2 separate regions of the Homo sapiens genome follow, and region 1 is linked to region 2. The links are contacts of gene promoters, found by promoter capture Hi-C in blood cells and fetal thymus (Javierre and others, 2016). All regions are on one chromosome and are shown on one strand. The core of a region is centred on a gene start or on the middle of the fragment in contact, and the rest is flanking DNA. Distances in the headings are between cores, read along the strand shown. Region 1 overlaps OGA (O-GlcNAcase). Region 2 holds the start of KAZALD1 (Kazal type serine peptidase inhibitor domain 1).

Evidence for each region. The method cuts DNA at HindIII sites, captures the fragments that hold promoters and counts their contacts. A CHiCAGO score of 5 or more calls a contact.
Region 1: a fragment that was not itself captured here is called in contact with the fragment with the promoter of KAZALD1 in region 2 in 1 of 17 cell types (erythroblasts); the score reaches 7.1 in erythroblasts.

What each region holds. Positions count from the first base shown.
Region 1 is chr10:101,814,679-101,817,777 of GRCh38, forward strand. The region is part of intron 1 of OGA (O-GlcNAcase); the gene reads right to left. Among named protein-coding and RNA genes, the nearest start is that of OGA, 2.2 kb to the right of the region's middle. The HindIII fragment of the contact is 4,868 bases long and covers 1-3,099 here.
Region 2 is chr10:101,060,260-101,063,538 of GRCh38, forward strand. KAZALD1 (Kazal type serine peptidase inhibitor domain 1) reads left to right here and starts at 1,730. Exons shown (of 5, transcript NM_030929.5): 1 at 1,730-1,856; 2 at 2,283-2,844. The coding sequence starts at 2,334. It overlaps LOC107984262 (a long non-coding RNA gene), which reads right to left and starts at 492. Exons shown (of 2, transcript XR_001747569.3): 1 at 1-492. RefSeq lists enhancers at 373-667, 1,594-2,482 and silencers at 795-1,214, 2,395-2,444. The HindIII fragment of the contact is 11,916 bases long and covers 83-3,279 here.

The sequences.
Region 1 (3,099 bases), core at 161-2,660, 750 kb after region 2:
CCCAAACAACAAACTCTCACGCAATCTTAATTACAGAGCAAAGATCTGAACAAATGAAAATTCAAGAATATTACTTCTGGTCCTTAAACGGAAAGGAATAAACAAAGAAAACTCAAGAATGTCCCCAGAGTATCCTCTAAGAGGACAAAACACTAGTTATGCACACACTGCAGAAAACAAACTCGCAGACCGATAACCTAAATGGTTGAATAAGCATCAAACTGGTATCTGGAACTCCCTAGTGTGCTCATCACAGCTCAAACCACACACTTTACATCTTGTCTAACCTTTACTTTCCACTTGTCTCAGTCTAATCATCAGTAAGAGATAAGGACAGCCTCTCAAGAGTACCATGAAGAAGGTTAATAAAAGCATTCTGAACACAAAATGTTCTACATAAACCCACACAATCTACATAAGAGACTAGTCTAAAACAAATTTCTGCAATGTATTTTAGCTCCAATCTCTAGGCAGAATGACTCCTCTGCACCACAAAAAGGACAATGACAGACCAAATTAAAATTCATTACATACCAATGTATAACTGTAGCACTTTCATCTGGACAATCTAATGTTAGCCTCTCACAAGTGATACAAAATATTCTTTTTTTTTTTTCTCAGGCGGAATCTCACTCTGTCGCCCAGGCTGGAGTGCAGTGGCACTATCTCGGCTCAATGCAATCTACGCCTCCAACTCCCGGGTTCAAGCGATTCTCCTGTCTCAGCCTCCCGAGTAGTTGGGATTACAGGAGCCCGCCACCACGCCCGGCTAATTTTTTCTATTTTTAGTAGAGACAGGGTTTCGCCATGTTGGCCAGGCTAGTATCGATCTCCTGACCTCGTGATCCGCCCGCCTCGGCCTCCCAAAGTGCTGGGATTACAGGCGTGAGCCACCGCGCCCGGCCAATATAAAATATTCTTGATCAGGCAGACCTATACAAGTCTTTAGCATCCCTACGGCACTTAGCATTATCATTTTTTTTTTAAGGAGTAGGCATTAAACATCCTTTCAGAGTTGCTCCAATATAAAAAAAGACTTTTCAAATGTCTAGCTTAATTAAACATTTTAATCTTTAGAAACCCTACCTTGGCTCTTTTGAGAGTCAGGTTCATGGTTTCGGTTGACTGGCACCACAAAGAGGAAGCAATGCTGTTAATGTAAGTTAAAAACCAAGAGAGTTTTGTGATGGAAAGAAAACAAAAAAGAAATCCTAGCAGTAACTATAGTATTTCTATGCTCATTCATTTTACGGCTGGTGCCAACCAAGAGGTATCAAAAAGAGAGAAAAAAAAAAAAAAAAAAAAAAAAAAAGCCAGGCGCGGTAGTTCACGCCTGTAATCTTAGCACTTTGGAAGACCGAGGCGGGCGGACTGCCTGAGCTCCGTAGGTGGAAACCTGCCTGGGCAACACGGTGAAACCCGTTTCTACTAAAATACAAAAAATTAGCCGGGCCCGTGTCTGCAGTCCCAGCTACTTGGGAGGGTGAGGGAGGAGAATTGCTCGAACCCGGGAGGCGGAGGTTGCAGTGAGCCGCGATCACGCCACTGCACTCCAGCCTGGGCGACAGAGCGAGACTCCGTCTCCCAAAACAAAAACAACAAAACACACAAAAAATCAGTGCTGGCTCAGGTGCTCAGTCACTAAGAAAATATACAAGGGCACGGGAGGGAGGAGGAATAAACGAGAGAATGGCAGACAACTCTGTTCTTTAAATAGGAAGAATCGCCTTTTAATGCTATTCTAAACAAACGAATTTAAACCAAATGAGTTTTCTCCTTTTATAACTGAAGGTATAATGGACTGGCAAGTTTCCTTAGACTCATTCCAGTCTAGCTCCGAAATTTCCCAGCACTCTCTCATCCCCACTCCAAGATCTTTGATAACAAAAACCAGATTCTTTTTCTAAAATCTCCCTGCACTCAAGCCAATAAATACAACGATATAAGTCACACAATGCAATCATTTTTGATGAATACTATATAGCAGTTTTCCATTCTGTAATCCCCCAAATTCTGCAAGACAGTTAACTTCGCTGAACTCTTTCATGCCTTACTGTAGCAGCAAAGTAGCCTGTTATGGTCTGTACCATAACCACCACCCATTTTTCGAAAGAATACTCTAATTTATATGGTGAAAAAAAACAGAAAAGCTGATGTTCTCAACGTCGAGAGCAATCCTTTTTCCATACCTTTTTGGTTTTTTAAATATATATATTTTTTACCCTTATCCACGCCATTACATACGAGAGAGATATAAAACAGACATCTAGGAAACTCTGAATCGGCCAAAATACTTCAGAAAATTCAAATACATGCTGTAACTGCGGAAAGACTAATAATGTAACCGATTCGTGCCTCTACAGAGCTGCAAGGTGGACTATCTGTCCATTCTCATCCAGAAACTGAAACAAGCATCTGGTAATTTTCCCTCACTACCAAAAAGTCCATCGTTCTTTTCGACTGTAAATGGGAAAAAAGGCGAGAAGGGCATTTTTAAAGCCGCTTCTGCGGTCACTAAATTCCAATTACGCATCTCAGATACTTCGAGAATCTGTGATTAAAGCCAAAGTTTCATCCCTCGAGAGCAAAGTACAGTAGCTGGGAAAGAGGGCAATTTTCTAAGTTGCAAATGAATCTTTGCGGGGGTGGGGGGAAGCAACAAAAATATTCTAAGCCAAGTGGAACTTGAAATACTATAGGCCAAACGTGCTTCTCTTCACTCCAGAAGTACAAGCACGTCAGTGTGGGCCGATTTTCCACAAAGGGTGGTGACAGAAGCACTACACATATTTTTTCACTGGAACCAGACAACCCTAGGGAATAAGATCCCAAGGTACAAAGAAGTAGAACTCAGAGGCTAACAGAACACCAGGCTCTTAACCACCGCCTCCTTAGGAGGTGGCCTGGCTCCAAGCCCAAGACGGGTGGGGTCAGACTTGTGAGTGGCCAGGGGGGAATTCGACGCCGTCTTAAGACGTGCAAGGAGATTCGCCCAACATCTCGTCTCTCCCCTCGCTTTAGGAGGGCCACATTTCAGACCCAGAGGCTTTCCGGCCTTTTAGAGTCTCCAAAATCCCCGCCACCACCCTCCTCCCGAGG
Region 2 (3,279 bases), core at 480-2,979:
ACCGAGAATTTGACGTGCCACCAGGCGCGGGGCTAGGTTCACAAGATACAGTAGTGAGTTAGGCACGATTCCTACTACCAGAAGCTTAGAGCATAGGGAAGACTAAAAGTAAGCCACCGTCTACAATAGTAGGATAAGTGGAGAGTTTCTAGGTCCGTGGAGTTTGTTGTTGAATATCTGCTCCAGGCCTTAGAAGCCGGCAGCAATTCACTAAAAGATCCCGGACTTGTCTGCTCTGTATCCCAGCCAAGGAGCTCCGTCCCCAAGGTGTTTTGTTAGAGTCAGAGACCTCTCCTTGGGTGATTCCATTCGTCAGCCCCACAAGTCCCCGTCTCTGGCCTTTTTCAGGGTCTCCGGCAGCTCTCTGACAGTTCCCCTTCTGTCTCAGGTCGACACTTATTCCAAGGACCAGGGATTACTCACAACTATCCGCCAGAGTTTGCTCCGCCCTTTCTTTTTCCTGTTTAAAATCCGCGGGCTCTTAGTGTTCTCGGTTCCTAGATTTCCTGTTCTGATTCTCGCGACAGTTGCGAGGCCTCGCGTGAAGTTCCCTTCTAGTCCCTATTTCGAATTTGAGACCGGGAGAGAGTGTCTGCCCTTGCCCACCTCCTCAGAACCCCTCTGGCCAGGGATGGCGCCTACGTGGCTCGGGAGCCCCTGAATGAATGGGCTTGGCCCAACTTAGGGGCGCATTCCGACGGGAGAGTCCTGGCTGTATTCCGAGGCTCCAGTGCGCATGCGGAGTCGATCCCGCGCAGGCGGGCGGGGACGGCAGCCGGGTCTTGTGGGCGGAGCCTGACTAAGTGCCGCCCCCTTGCCGGCTGCAGATTGCTATTTCTGCCCCCCACCCTCGCCCATCCCCCCGCGAGCTGGACTGCGCCAAGGCTTCTGTGAGCCGCTTGGGGCCGGCCGGGGCGGGGCCTGCCCGACCCGGGTTTGGCTGGCGGGCCCCTAGGAATGCTCTCCTCCCCGCCCCCGGCCCAAAGTGCCACGGTGGCGGTGGTGGCGGCCGCGAGGCCGAGTGTCTCCGGCCCTGCCAGCCTCGCAACCGTAACCTGTAATCCCGACCCGAGGGACGCCCGCCGGGGAGGCGCCAGCCCGCCTCTCCCTGCGGCCGCTGGTCGGCTCCGACCTCGAATCACCCGGCTCACCCGCGGGTCGCAGCACCTGCCGGATGTGGGGAGGAAGAAGGAGGCCAGATGAGGGAAGGCGGATGTAGGCGCCCAGTCTGTCCGCGCCTTGGTGGGGCAGCTGGGTGGGCAAGCCTGCGGTCGCTCCCGGGAACCAGCCCTGGGCTGCGGGGAGACGAAGGTGGTTGGTCCTGCCCTCCAGGAGCGCCCCGACATCGACGTAAAATGACTTGGCACCAGAGCTCCTGCCGCCTCCCCCTTATGCAGCTGCCCTCGCCGACGCCAGGGACTGTAAAATCAGATGGGACAGGGCCTAGCCGTTCAGCCAACACTTTGAGCTTCCCAGCCAAACTCCTACCCCCACTCCCCGCCTCCGGTCCTCACCCCCTTCCTCTCTCCCAGCCTCGGTGTCTGGTTACGGCTCCTCTGCTCGCATTGTGACTTTGGGCCAGGCTGGGGGAAATGACCCGGGAGGGTCCCATGCGGCTACATAAAATTGGCAGCCTTAGAACTAGTGGGAAGGCGGGTGCGCGAAGTCGAGGGGCGGAGAGAGGGGGCCGGAGGAGCTGCTTTCTGAATCCAAGTTCGTGGGCTCTCTCAGAAGTCCTCAGGACGGAGCAGAGGTGGCCGGCGGGCCCGGCTGACTGCGCCTCTGCTTTCTTTCCATAACCTTTTCTTTCGGACTCGAATCACGGCTGCTGCGAAGGGTCTAGTTCCGGACACTAGGTGAGCACTCTGTGCCCCAGGCCATAAGCGAGGCGGCATCAGCCCCCCCAGTTCTCACCCCCCATTAGCAGCTTCTTACTTCTGGAGCCACCCATTCTCTTTGGGCAAGGATGCTCAGGGGCCAGGGATCGGAGTCGGGTGGTGCACGGAAGTGGTGCTGGTGGTGGGTGTGCGTGCGCCTGAGCCTTATCACCCTTTCCTCACCTCTCTTCACTCCCAGCCCTCCCAAGAACAGCCCAACTGATTGCTAACTGCCATAACTGGATAATCCCTAGAGGGTCACTAGGCCTGTGTGTTGGGGGAGGCTACTTGGTAGCAGGGGAGGGGGCGATGCTAGTGTCATGCTTTGGTACAAGAAGCAGTGAGGTTGGTCTTTCGGCACAGGCCCTGTTTCTGACCTCCTGACCTGGCTTCCCTTCCTGGCAGGGTGCCCGAACGCGCTGATGCCCCGAGTGCTCGCAGGGCTTCCCGCTAACCATGCTGCCGCCGCCGCGGCCCGCAGCTGCCTTGGCGCTGCCTGTGCTCCTGCTACTGCTGGTGGTGCTGACGCCGCCCCCGACCGGCGCAAGGCCATCCCCAGGCCCAGATTACCTGCGGCGCGGCTGGATGCGGCTGCTAGCGGAGGGCGAGGGCTGCGCTCCCTGCCGGCCAGAAGAGTGCGCCGCGCCGCGGGGCTGCCTGGCGGGCAGGGTGCGCGACGCGTGCGGCTGCTGCTGGGAATGCGCCAACCTCGAGGGCCAGCTCTGCGACCTGGACCCCAGTGCTCACTTCTACGGGCACTGCGGCGAGCAGCTTGAGTGCCGGCTGGACACAGGCGGCGACCTGAGCCGCGGAGAGGTGCCGGAACCTCTGTGTGCCTGTCGTTCGCAGAGTCCGCTCTGCGGGTCCGACGGTCACACCTACTCCCAGATCTGCCGCCTGCAGGAGGCGGCCCGCGCTCGGCCCGATGCCAACCTCACTGTGGCACACCCGGGGCCCTGCGAATCGGGTACGCATGGCCCGGGGCCCCCACCCCAGCACTTAGGTTTCCTAGAGGCACTGCTCCCCGACCCCTGACAGCATTGGTCTCTGGCCAGCAGAGCAAAAAAGATAAGGCTATAGAGGCCTCGAGTCCAGTATAAAACCCTGCTCTCGCTACTGGTTCATAAAAGCTGCCACCTTAAGGTGGGGGTGGGGGGTGGAGTGGAGTGGGAGTCCCGGGCTTCGTCAGCAAGCTGCATTCGCTGAACCACGTGAAAGCTCCAGAGCTGGCTGGCAGGGAGAGACAGGTCCTCTGAGGGCGCAGGCACATAACCTATGGTTTGCTCAGAGACCCCCCCGACTTTTCCCAGACCAGTGGAGTCCAGGCAGCAAGACGGGTTCCTGTGAGATGCAATCACGTTTCATTCTTAGAGCAGTTTGTTCACCCAGTCTCCCCACCTCT